2 separate regions of the Homo sapiens genome follow, and region 1 is linked to region 2. Evidence: promoter capture Hi-C in human tissues and cell types (Jung and others, 2019). All regions are on one chromosome and are shown on one strand. The core of a region is centred on a gene start or on the middle of the fragment in contact, and the rest is flanking DNA. Distances in the headings are between cores, read along the strand shown. Region 1 overlaps LOC105378641 (a long non-coding RNA gene). Region 2 holds the start of HMGB4 (high mobility group box 4).

Region 1 (6,490 bases), core at 3,096-5,595, 740 kb after region 2:
CTGTAGTCCCAGCTACTCAGGAGGCTGAGGCAGGAGAATGGCGTGAACCCGGGGGCGGCAGAGCCTGCAGTGAGCCGAGATCGCGCCACTGCACTCCAGCCTGGGCAACAGCGAGACTCTGTTTCAAAAAAAAAAAAAAAAGACAGGAGGGCCTGTGTCATCCAACTTTATAGAAGTTTGGGATGGCTCCAAGATAGTGCAGCACAAGAGGCGAGAGGCTTCCTCCCTTCTTCTCCACCTACAACAGACCACTATTCAGCTTTGGCCCCCTGAACTGTGTCCCTTGAGAGATGGCAGCAATAACAGAGCCCAGTGAAGCAACAGTGGGGCAATAGTGGTGACTGGTGGACACTTCTGGGCCTGGCAGACCAGCAGCAGAGCTCAAAGGGTTGCCCAGGAGTGCAGAGGGAGAGGCTGCAGTGCCCAGCAGAGCAGCAACAGTGCCCGGAGTTCCCAGCACCTGCAGAGCAGCAATGATGTCTGCAGGGCCATGCCCAGTGGAGCAGCAGCACCCCCTAGAGGGCAACTTGGTGCTCACTGAAACAGCAGCATATGTGTCCAGAAGTGCCAGAGACGTCCCAGGGATTCTTGGGAAACTGCGAGATTTTTCAGAGGGTGGTAAGGTGGGGACACAAGACAGTGAAATTTGAGCCATTTCTGTTACCCATGATTTCATTGATACCCATGGACTAGTGGATCCTGGGGAAATTTCTATTATATAAAGTGGGATATCTAACCCTGAATCCCAGACCCCCTCAGAGCGGAGAACAGGTTCCCCAAAATACATACACACACACACACACACACACGAACACACACATACAGAGGGAGGGAGAGAGAGAGAGCACAAATACCCTTAGATCCCACCCATCAGAAAGAAACAGGAGCCTTAGCTTCTCCTAGCATCCCCTTCCTTCTTCCCATAGACTCATCAAATATAGATTTCTACCTATTCTAACCAAGACAGGCCAGTGATCTGTAACTAATCCTGTGCCTGGAGGGCAGAGCAGCCTCAATTCTGGGGTCTCAGGAGAAGAACATTGGAATGGCCTCTTTGTGGGGAAGCTCCTCCCTGCTCTCCATCTGTCCAGCCCCACCAAGCCCTGTAGCTGGTGATCATTAAGCAGTAAAGGCATCCCTAATGGTGGCTAATGGCGGGCTTAAGTACTAGTTACCTGAAAGAACCCCTGGGGTTGGCTCACTTACTGTATTGAGTGATCCTGCAGACCCACAGAGCCACTCTTTCTAATGAGGAGAGCGACTGAATGCTGAATTCAAGCCCAGAAAATGGCTGGGGAGAGAAGGGGAGCCTGCCAAGGCCCTCTATAAGGGTCCAATGTGAAAGCACAGCCCTCCTCTTGCTGTTCCTCTGTGGCTCCAGTTGCCCAGGCTGCCCTGAAGGGGTTGAATAGGGAATATGGCATTAATAGTTAGCAGCTGAGGCTTTCAGGCCAGCCCCAACTTTCACCTCCACTCTATCTCAGTCACCAATCCCATGACAACAGCCTGGAGCCCTTGCTTCCCCAGAGCTGCCCTGCTTCAAAAATCCATTCTGCATCTGGTTGCCTGCCTTCCAGGCTCCTCCCACCTGCCTCCCACCACTCCTGCCTTTCCTTGCATATTCTCTATACCAGTCATGACCACACATTTCTCCCAAGTGTTCAAGCCACAAACTTAGATATCCGTCCTCTCCTTTGAATCTATCACCAAATCCTACGATTCTTCCTTCTAAATGTCTCTTAATTCTACCCAGCCCTCTCTATCTTCCTTGGGCAACTTCCCATCATCTCTCACTTGGCCCACTTTGGTGGACCTCAATGGCAAGGACCCTGTTGTATCCATCTTTGTATCTCAAATGTTGGACCCAGGCCTGGCACAAGATAAGAAATCCTGAAATTCTTATCAAATGAATGGGCCAAAACATATTCATGGCATTGTTCTCAGTTTGCGTCCCTTCCCCAGTACTAGCTGTATGTACTTGGACTGGTCACTTGTCTGCTCTCAGCCTCTGAATCTCCACCTGATACGCAGAGAATTCAATCTCAAGTAGAATTGTTGTAGAGATAGAAGTAAATAATACTATAATAGAAGGAATTCGTTACGTTAATAACAAAATGAGAAACAATGACTTAAGCCAAGCAGGGCTTTTCTTTCTTCTCTGGTAAGAAGAAAGCCTCTAGAAGATGTTGTTGCTATGTTGGCCCAAAGGCACAGGGACATCTAGGCCAAGACTTCTACCACATTCTTAGCCTTTTCCTTATGATTAACTTGTGGTTGCAAAATGGCAGCTGTGCCTCCAACATCAGCCCACATTCCAGGTAGAAAGAAGGGGAAATGCCACGGGCAATGAACAAAAGGAGTTCATACTAACTGAATCTGCCATTTTTAAAGAACTCCATGCAGTTTCAATTTGGCCAAAAAATAAAGCTTTGGACCAGACATCAAATATCTGCCTCAATGGCTGTATCAGTCAAGGTTTTTGTTAAAGGTACTGGAAACATCTCTGGCTATATTAATTTTTAAGAGAATTTCTCTTGGGAGGCTGAGGCAGAAGATTCGCTTGAACCTGGGAGGCGGAGGTTGCAGTGAGCCGAGATCATGCCACTGCACTCCAGCCTGGGTGACACAGCGACACTCCATCTCAAAAAAAAAAATAGAATTTCTTAGAATGATATTGGAGGCTTACAAAATTATTAGGAGGCTAAGGTACAAGGGTTGGAAAATAAGCAAGAACCAAGGGCTCCCCCAAGGGCCAAAACACAGGAAATGATCTGGCTAGGATGCTATGGTCACTGCAGAAGAAGGACACTGACATTAGCCACAATTGCTGTTGCCACTGGGCACTACCATGGTTACCACAAATGAATTCCCAACCATTGGTGGGGGTTTTTGCATTACATGCTCCAGACTGAAAGTCCTGGGCAGCACAACCAATTGGCCAAGCTCAGTGTATCAATCAGGGTCCTGGCAGGAATTGGGAAGGGTTTGAGAAGAGTTTAATAAAGGGGCCATTTACAAAGGTGAGAGGAGGGTATAAGGAAACCAAAAGAATGGTTCAGCATTCTGGAGTTTGTAGTAGCAAAGTGCCATGATTGCCCACCCACAGGAGGCAAGGAACAGAGTGGTTACTGGAACCCAGAAAGAAAAGAAAGTTTTGCAGAGAGGGAGGGCCACCTACAGGAGCTGTAACTTTTCGTGGAGGGACACAGTCAGTCAGCCTAAGGTGACCTGCAGGGAAAGATCTAGGAAAATCAATGCCCTGACCTCACTCTTCCTTCTTTCTAACCTCCTACAACACTCCTCTTTGACCACACCCACCTGAAACCCAAAGGACAAGGAGCTCTTTGATCTAGTGGGGAAAGGCCAGCCCCTGGGGACACAGAACAGAGTGGAGAATGGTGGCAAAAGGATCTGAAGAAGCCAATAACAATATCTAGCACAAGCCACCCTTTTTACATCTCAGCATCTACTTTGGTCATTCCTCTGGGTAAAAAGCTCATGTCTTCAATACAGAGAACACACAAAGTCCATCTCTTCTGTATCATTACAAGGTAATGTCAATTCAGTCAAACTCTCTACTGAAACCTAAAAGAGGAATACCACCAGTATTCTTCATATAAGGTAGTAGAGGAGGAGAAAAAGAGAAAACTGCCGTAAAGCTTAGCTGCTACTCTCCATGCTTTTATAGCTGAACATGAGACATAAGTAGGTAATCCATAGTGCCCTCTTCTACTGCCAAATCTACGTACCCCTTGGCCTCTTGGAATGCCCGATGGGGTGACCTAATCCTTCATTCTTGTGAGATCTGAGTCCTCTGCAGTCTTGTCTTTATTGGGTTGCCACAGTTTTCCACTGGTCAGGACTATTGCACAGGTGAGTACTAACAGATGTTCCAGTGGCCCTGTGGTTCCAAGCAGGGTACTTCTTGCCCCTCTTGTGTGGCAACAAACCAATTTCCCCTGGCAGCCAGGATCAACTATCCTGGTCAGCACAGAGATGCCCCCTTCAGCCTGGTGGTTCAGCCACACAAGGATCCCAGAATGGCCAGGGGACTATCTCAGCTTCTAATTACTGGGAAGCCCAAGGTCAAGGAAACAGCAAGTGAAAGAATCTTCAAGTAGGTTACTGAGTGTAATTGTGAAAAAAACTACTTCCACCTCTTCCTTGGGGCCCAGATCCATTCACTTTGGCTATGGAACAGCACCAGACATTGACTACTGGTTTAAGACATACACCATACCCTGCAGAATCCAACCTCATCTTCGCAGATGCTATTCATCAATTGAGGCTATTCAGTTGTAACTGAACTTTCAGCAGACCTCTCCTTCACCTTATCAAGCCAGTTTCTTCTGGGTGATGGGGCATGTGGTTAGAATAGTGTGCGTGGTCTTTAGTTCAGTACCTTACTCCTTTGCCTTAAAAAGTTTGCCCTGGTTGGAAGTATTACTGTGTGGATATCAAGGGGATGATAAGTCCAGAAATGATGGTTCTGGACTTCAGCTGGTGCTGTAGGCAGGAAAAGAAAGCCTATATTTGATGTACAACCTACTCAGCCATGCCCAAACAATGTACCATGGGAGGGCTTTGTTTCACGGAAGTATTAGGAAATGCATTGGCAAGGAGGCAGAAGATTCATGGAAATCACTGGGCTTATCACCTGCCCCATTTCCCAGAAGGAGCTGGCCTGATAGGAAGGTAAAACAGTCTGCTGAAAGTTCAAAGCAAACGTCTCTGCTTGTGGATTATTATAGAAGTTCCACATTCCTTGTCTCTGATGGTTCGTCACCACCGTCTTGCCTCGACAGCACTGGGACCCCATTATACCACAGAGATCAAGGATCCTAGTTCCATCTCCAGCTTACAGATGACTCACTACAGAGCTCTTCAAGGATTCTGGTACCTATTGTCAATGCATTTTTCAACATCTTGGTGCACCCTCCACCCCCATGGTGTACCCAGGAAGATTTCACAGACTTTCTCCCTGCAGAACTCTTAGATCATCAGTACTAGCAGCCAGGGTGACTTCAAGTGGTCATCAAGCACAGACGTGCGTGCACTGCAGGCAAGTCTTACTAGTGTCCTAAGGGGCAAGCCACAGTTCAACACAATTCCCATCATCACCAATTCCCTCAGGTGAATTGGCCACCATGCCATTTTCCTAGATCACTAGGCAAAGCCACAGTCGGGAACTCAATGACACCCAAGAGAGATCTCCGACAGCACAGTTCACAGGGCACATTAACCAGCCCTCCAGGCCATTGGTAAACCACAGCCAATGGCAGCTGTAAATGACTTTGTGTACATACATATGTCACACTCAGCACATATAGCCTTTACACACCTCACCCTCATCACACCTGCACCCCTCAGAGGGGTTCCCCAGACAGCACATCATCAGCAATTCTACACACAGGCTTATACACAAATACACAGGCACTTGGATCTTTCTTTGAAATAGAGTTGTGCCACAGAAAACACTTTAAGCCGTCTGCTTAGAGAACTCAGAGATCTTGTGTGGGAGGCACGTCAGGGGCTGGGTGAGGGGAGGAATCTTGAAACCAGACATAAACGGAGTGGAGGCAGGCAGGTTTACCCTGAAGTTGTTTTATGTCTCTCACAATGGCTACCAACATCTCAGAAGTCAGGAAATTGAAAAGTGAGCATCTCATGCTATCCACTTAGCGGAGCGGCTATCTGGAATTGAATTCCGAGAGAGACAGAGAGAGAGAGAGAGAGAGAGAGAGAGAGAGAAAGAGGAATCATTTGTCCTCAGAGAAGGACTAAGAAGGATCTGTGCAATGAAGACAGCCCACATCCTAGAGATACCCAGATCTGGGTTACAGCTGCACTAATTAGCTGTGTGAGCTTGGGCAAGTTATCTCACCTCTCTGAGCTTCAGTTTCCCAGTTCTATAATAGGGTTACCGTGAGAGTTCAATAAGACAACTTTAGGCAGTACCTGGCATTCAGAAAGTGCCATTTCTCTTTTCTTCCCCCTTCTCATTAGGGAGAATGAGGAACGTGAAGCCTCCAGGGACACTGGGCCTCATACCCCACAATCAGGCACCAAATCCTAGCCACTCTATTGTAATTTTATTTCTGTCGCTAAAGTGCTTCACCCCTGAATACTGGATCTGAGTTTGACCCAGTATTTGGATATCTGCCAGTTTTTGGCTCCATGCTGGGATTTGGTTTTCTGCCTTCTCACATGAACTCTTTTTGCTGACTCTGCTTCCTGACTCAACTCCATTCTACCATTTTTCTATTTTTCTCTCTGTTTCTTCCTTCCTCCCTCCCCCCTTTCCTTCCTTCCTTCCCTCTTTTCTTCTTTCCTTCTTTTCTTTCCCTCCTCTCTCCTTCCTTCTCTCCCTGTCTCCCTCCTTCCTTCCTTCTCTCCTCTGTCCCTCCTTCCTGTCCAGAATAGCTCTGAAAAATCTGCAACATGTCCAATGCCGTGCTAGGCACGCAGCCTAACAGACAGTCCCAGAAAC
Region 2 (6,900 bases), core at 3,409-5,908:
CTGTGACACTCCTGCCTTCCTCTTACAAAGGCCATGTGATTCTATCAGGCCCACCTGATAATCCAGGATCATCTCCCTAGCTCTAAATCCTTAGAGTAATCTTATCTACAAAGTCCCTTTTACCAAGTAAGGAACAAATTCACAGGTTTCAGGGCTTAGGACGCCAGCATCTTTGGAGAGGCATTCTTCTGCCACTTGCAGATGCCTTGTTCAGAGGGTAAATGCAACCAGTGAGTCCCACTCCACAGAGGAAGGGGCAGGAGGGGGATGAAGGAAGTTTCAAAGCATTTGACATACACATGCTTATGCCAGGTATGTTTGCTGTTGTTGCTGTGGCCTGAGCACTGAGGGTTTTGGAAAGCTTAGGTGATTCCATCATGCTGCAAAATCTGAGAGATACTTTGACAGAGATATGCTAAGAGCATATGCTGCTGTAATTGAGGGTAAAATCTGGCCCTGTGATTCCTGGAGATGATGGATCAAGAGCAGGGTGTCTTTACCCTGGCTGCACATTGCTATCAACTGGAAAGATTTTTCTTTAAAAAAATGTTATTTTGAAATAAGAGTGCAAAGATCATACAGAAATGTCCTGTATACCCTTCACCCCGATTCCCTAATGTTGGCATCTTACATAACCCTGGGTCATGCATAAAAACTAAGAAATCAGCAATGGTACAGTACTATTAACTAAATGAAACATTTTATTCAGATTTCCCCAGATTTCCACCAGTGGCCCACTTTTTGTCTGTCACAGGATTCAGTCTAGCATCTCTCATTGCATTTGTCCTGTCTTCTTGGTTTCTTCCAATCTGCATCAGTTTCTTAGCCTTGCCCTGGTTTTTTAAAATCTTGACATTATTGAAGGGTACTGATCAGGTATTTGGTAGAATGTTCTTTATTTCAGTTTGTCTAATGTTTTTTCATAGACCTTGGCTATGGATTTTTGGGAAGAATATCATGGCGGTGAGATGCTGTTATTATGGCAACACAGAAAGGGGTTCTGTGATCTCAACATGACCTGTTATTGATGATGCTTACTTCGATCACTTGGTTAAAGTGGTGTCTGCCAGATTTCCCCGCTGTAAAGTTACTATTTGTCCCTTTCCATGTTCTATTCATTAGTAGTGGGTGGCTAAGTCCAGCCCACACTGGAGAGGGGGAGTGCCATCTGTTTTTATTCCTATCATTTCAATTTGTTTAATCCTCATGGCTTTATTATCACCTCACTACTTTTTAGAGATATGGTTGTAATGAGCTAGACTTGCCCAAAGTTACTCAGCTAGTAAATGGCAAAGCTAGAATTTGAACTTATATGTGTCTGGCTTAAAAGGCCATGTTCTTTCCACTTCATGTTACTGCCACCAAGTAAAGAGGATCTCACAGTCTCCGAGGCGGAAGCTCCCTCTCAGCTTGTCTGGACAGTGTTTTTCAAATCCATTCTTGGAGTGTGACCCATCAGTGGGTCATGAGGTCAGTCTGTGGGTGGCATTTTAAATAACAACATAAAGTAAAGGTGACTACAACAGAGTAGAAAATAAGAGTATGTCACACAAGTAGAAATTTTTTATCTCTATATCTTCTCTGTGCTTTGCTACCTTCATCTGAATTCACTTATCCTTGTATGGAGATAAAAATAGCCCTCCCATAGGCTTGTTATGAGGACTGAATGGAATGAGGTACATAAAGTGCTTAGAAGAGAGACTGGCTCATATTAAGCATTATATAAATATTAAGTATGTATGTATGTAAACGAGTCATGATGTAAAATGTATTTCTTATTGCAGACTGCAATCAAGATGTTTGAAAATACTGAACTCACATCTGTAGACGAGGAGTTGGCAGATTTACGACCCCCAGCTTGCAGCCTATTTTTTAAAAATAAGGTTTTATTGGAACATAGCCACACTCATTGGTTTAGGTATTTTCTATGGTTACTTTCGAGGTATAGTGGCAGAGCTGGGTACCTGCAACAGAAACCCTGTGGTTCACCAAGCCTATCATATTTACTACCTGGCCCTCTAGACCAATGCTCCTGCCTGGAGGTCATCTCATAATCTAGGGAATATTGGACACCTCTTCCCGGGCATGTGGTCTGGTCATGCTACTGTCCTTGCAGGCATGCTTGCTCTAGGCTGTGTGACTGCCAGGCACTTGGATCTCCAGAAGCTCATTACTCTTCTCTATTAAACTGATGCCTACATGGTGAAAGGCTAAAACCATGGTACTTTGGTCAGGGTCCCCGCAGGAAACAGATGGCCACTCAAATTAAAATGATTGGTGAGGGCAGAGTGTGGGAAAGTAGCAGAGACCTCAGAGGCTCATAAAAGTAGAGTTTTACCACCCTAGGCAGGAGGAGATAAAGAAAGGGGGCAATGCCTGTACTGGAAGGAGAGAGTCATTTAGAGAGGACACCTTATGAGGACCAGTGACCTTCAGTCCAGGGACACAGAACCAGCTCCAAGTGACCCTGGGGTGGGGATCCAGGAGAATAAATGCCTTGACTTAACTTTCCTCCATCTCTGATCTCCTGAGGGCCCCATTGACCAAAGTGAGATGGAAACCAGAGGGTATGGGATCCTCTGATGTGGCTCATACAGACCAGCTTCCCAGGCCAGAGAAGGTTGAAGAGAGGTTGGAGAAGGCTGGAAAGGGGATCTGGAAGGGCAACTCTTAGATACCCAGCACACAGCATTGATTTAGGAAGCCAGATTTATTTACCTTTCCTAAGCTCCCCTAAACAAGGACTTCCCCTGCTTCATCCTCCAAGTTGGAACTTTGACAACACCAAAAGGTTGACATAGCTTTTCCCTTTTACTGCCTTTTCTTCTTAAATCTGCTAGCTTCCCGATAGCTATTGTGGGTTAATCTTCCTGGATCTTATCATGAGAGGGATGGAAGGTTAAGAGGCACAGATAAGCTACTCTGTGTGTGTGTGTGTGTGTGTGTGTGTGTGTGTGTGTGTGTGTGTGTGTGTGTCTGAGCCTGAGCAGAGTCTGATGAATATGTGGACTTTCATTAAAGTTCTTCCTCATGTCCCATCTTTTGATCTCAGAAAGGAGCTGTGTCCCATTCATCTAGGCAGCCCTGCTCATGTCCAAAAAATGTGTGAGTCAACCTCTGGCCCCTTGGGAGAAAGAGCCAGGGGGAAAAAGGCTACCTAGGCTGAGAAGTGTCCCCAGAGTAATCCGTTCCTTTGCGAGACCCCCTACTAGCCCAGACTTCCTTGATGGCACCTGATATCTTATAGGCCCCCAAATCCTGCCACACAACTACAGCTTGTCCCCTGGAGGGGCTTCCCTGGCCAGTCCAGAATGCTCAATTTATGAGAGATCATTGGCTCACAGGGAGGAAGGGGATGGCTTAGGTAGGCCAGCCACCTTGCAGCAGAGCTGGGCAAGAATTCAGGATTGGAGACTCTTATTAGTTTCCATCTTTCTTTTACAGAAGATGAACACTGAAGTCTTGGAACCCTGGGAATGAACCTGGAAAAATTCAAAATATGGTCTAGTCTTAGGCAAGTTTCCTTGTCCGGCTCAGCTGCTGAGACCACATATCTGGACCCTCAGTGCCCTGGCAACAGCTCTGTGCAGGCAGGATGAAGCACAGGCTTAGGTCAAGCAATCAGCCGTCAAAATCCACACTCTCACCTGTGAGTGGCTGTTCAACCTTGAACATGTTACTTTTTATGTTAATGAAACTCAGTTTTCTAGTCCTATAAATTTGGGGCTATCATCAACCATTAAGTGATATTAAACCCAGTGCCACACAGGCAAGTACCTAGCAGTGTCCAAAGGCCCCCAGAATGACACTTTTTCATCTTTTCTCTTCCCTCCAATTGAAAGACTAGTGGAATATCTGCAATTACTTTGACCAAAAGCCAGAAGCCGGCCAGTTTGAGTGTAGCTGTTACAGCTTTGTGTTCTAAACCTAAGAAATGGGGACCCCTCACATGAGAGTGGGGAGGCTTCTGGATGTGCTACAAATTCCATTTCATTTTCATGAACTCCAGTGTTAATTAATAAAATCTCAAGGTTCTCCCCCCTCTTTCGCCTCACATTTCTTCAGAGAAATGAAGAGTTCCAACTCATAGCCCAAGTGCTCAGGTTTTAAATTAGACAACTTTGTCCTGACAGGAACCAAGTCACAGCTGTCATACCTGATTACTTTTAGAGTTACTACTAAACCCTTTGTATGGCATGAGCTGCCACTGTTCAAGGCAAACAGAAACACTTCACATTTTATCATGACAGCCCTGGATCTATCCACCTCCCCATGTTCATTATGCTCAGCCTGTCTTTGGAAGGGATGATGAGGCATCCTGAAAATCGTATAGTGAGGAAGGCAGACCCCATGGCCTGTCACTACAGCCTAGGGATTTTAAGCCCCTAAAGTGCAGCAAAACCCACTGCCTCCAGGAAGCCAAGGAGAATTATTTCTGGGGGACATAGCTGCCTCATAGCCTACTATGAATGAACCATCATCTTTCATGAGAGGCAAACATTGACCCTCAAGTAACCAACCAATACGAGCACCTGTACACAAATGCCCACAGGTGTTGGCTGGGATTGGCTGGCTTGTGGATGATGTCACAGTTTCCCTCCTCTGACTCAACAATGCCATCAGCACTGAAAAGGCTGAGCCCTGACTACAGCTCTTGCAGACAGAAAAATTCGCTGCAAGTACAGCACTTTCTAGATTGCTCCTGGAGTGTGGGAACAACAGTCTCTCCTGTCCACGTTACTGAATCCAGAAAAAAGGTGAACTTACGAACATGGGAAAAGAAATCCAGCTAAAGCCTAAGGCAAATGTCTCTTCTTACGTTCACTTTTTGCTGAATTACAGAAACAAATTCAAGGAGCAGCAGCCAAATACCTATGTTGGCTTTAAAGAGTTCTCTAGAAAGTGTTCGGAAAAATGGAGATCCATCTCAAAGCATGAAAAGGCCAAATATGAAGCCCTGGCCAAACTCGACAAAGCCCGATACCAGGAAGAAATGATGAATTATGTTGGCAAGAGGAAGAAACGGAGAAAGCGGGATCCCCAGGAACCCAGACGGCCTCCATCATCCTTCCTACTCTTCTGCCAAGACCACTATGCTCAGCTGAAGAGGGAGAACCCGAACTGGTCGGTGGTGCAGGTGGCCAAGGCCACAGGGAAGATGTGGTCAACAGCGACAGACCTGGAGAAGCACCCTTATGAGCAAAGAGTGGCTCTCCTGAGAGCTAAGTACTTCGAGGAACTTGAACTCTACCGTAAACAATGTAATGCCAGGAAGAAGTACCGAATGTCAGCTAGAAACCGGTGCAGAGGGAAAAGAGTCAGGCAGAGCTGATGGATCCAGTTTGAAAAAACAAAATGCCATTCAACCGTATTTCCTGTTCCTGGTCTCATGTGTGGCATTAGAGTAGCTGTGACTGATGCTTTGTGGAGGAGGGAGTGGCTTGGTAGAGGAGAGACTGATCCTGAGGAGGGGAACGGAGAGGACGGGAAGGGAAAGAAGGGGAAGGGAGGAGAGGAGGGAGGGGAAGGGAAGAGAGGGGAAGGGAAGGGAAAGGAGGGGAATGGAGGGGAGGGAAAGGGAGGGAAGGGCTGGCTTTGAGAGAAGTGTCAGCAGTAAACAAAAGGTGTGACTTGGGCCACTGGGTGGGAGCCTCCAGGTGTAAAGTAGCAGCAGTCATGGAGGTAGAAGCACCGTGGTTCTGAGTGGTGATCCAGGTGAGAGGACCCTACTCAGTGTCAGGTTCAGGAACATGACGTCTGACTCTGCTAAGCAGTGGCAGGACTGGGAAGACTGCCAGGGCTAGAAGGCCTAGAGTTCAAGCTCACACTTGAGGCCCCAGGAGAAACATATGGCATCTGAGTTGAGACAGGCCTGAGGGAACCCAGGATTTCCAGCAACACTTAGATACGCTCAGTGGGGCCAGGGTGAACTCCCAGGGGTGTTCCCTAATCAGGAGGAGGCAAGGGGCAGATTTTACCAAAAAAAAAAAAAAAAAGCAGGGGGCTGGGGAACCAGATCAATCGTTTTTCAGTGGATAGATGTATAATATGTGGCCTCCACTCCTCTTCCTCTTGTTCATAGCACTCTGACTCCCTTTCGTGACCAAGGCTGGATAAGAGGGCAGGATCGCCTTGGCCACAGTCATTGGCTCAGTGGTGGGCATGTGACCCAAGTTGGTCCTATCAGGGTGGACCTCTGGACCTGTGTAAGGAGTCCTGGGGGACACCGCAGTCCAGGGAATGTGGACAGCCATTTGCCATCTCATAGGGCCCAAGAAGGAGGCCGAGATGCTAGAATCCCTGTGGCATCAGAACAGTCTCCTAAACTTTTCATTGAAGATGAACAACACATTTCATTTTTTCCCTGACATGGTTTGACTTAGGTTTTTTCCTACTTGACTATAATTTGACACAAATGGGATTGTGCTGTAAGTGTCTGTCTGGTAACTAGATTTTTCAGGCAAGAATATACTGTAGGCAACATTCCATACCAATCAATAAAGATTGAAATGGAATATTTTGAAATGGTTCTTCTGACTTCTTGACATCAAAAATACTGGGCCAAAATGCAAAGCTGCTTTTTTGTCACCAGTTTATACATGCAACAGATCTCCCTAACTCCACCTCTAAGGACCCCTATTCCATGATAGAGGGACCTACACTTTCTACTCTACTGCGCTGAACAGTAAAAATACATATTTTTGAACAGTCTTTTAGAACTGCATGAGCCTTTAGGGGATGAGAGGTAATACAGTGATTTAGAAATTCAGGGTCTGGAATCAAACAGGTCATTTGTGGAGGATTTTCATGTGCCAGGCCATTTGCTGGGTACAGGGAGGCACATTACGCACTACTGCTAAGTTCCCGCCCTATAAAAAATTTCCTTCTGACAGGAGAGAT

What was found. Contacts are between HindIII fragments. The study calls those that stand out against the background at their distance.
Region 1: a contact is called between a fragment that was not itself captured here and the fragment with the promoter of HMGB4 in region 2, in 1 of the 25 tissues and cell types used here (dorsolateral prefrontal cortex).

The regions. Positions count from the first base shown.
Region 1 is chr1:34,597,581-34,604,070 of GRCh38, forward strand. The region is part of intron 3 of LOC105378641 (a long non-coding RNA gene); the gene reads right to left. Among named protein-coding and RNA genes, the nearest start is that of MIR552, 69 kb to the right of the region's middle. The HindIII fragment of the contact is 6,543 bases long and covers 1,075-6,490 here.
Region 2 is chr1:33,859,421-33,866,320 of GRCh38, forward strand. HMGB4 (high mobility group box 4) reads left to right here and starts at 4,659. Exons shown (of 1, transcript NM_001379301.1): 1 at 4,659-5,371. The coding sequence starts at 4,772. The coding sequence ends at 5,332. All of the region lies in intron 5 of CSMD2 (CUB and Sushi multiple domains 2), which reads right to left. The HindIII fragment of the contact is 11,719 bases long and covers 1-6,900 here.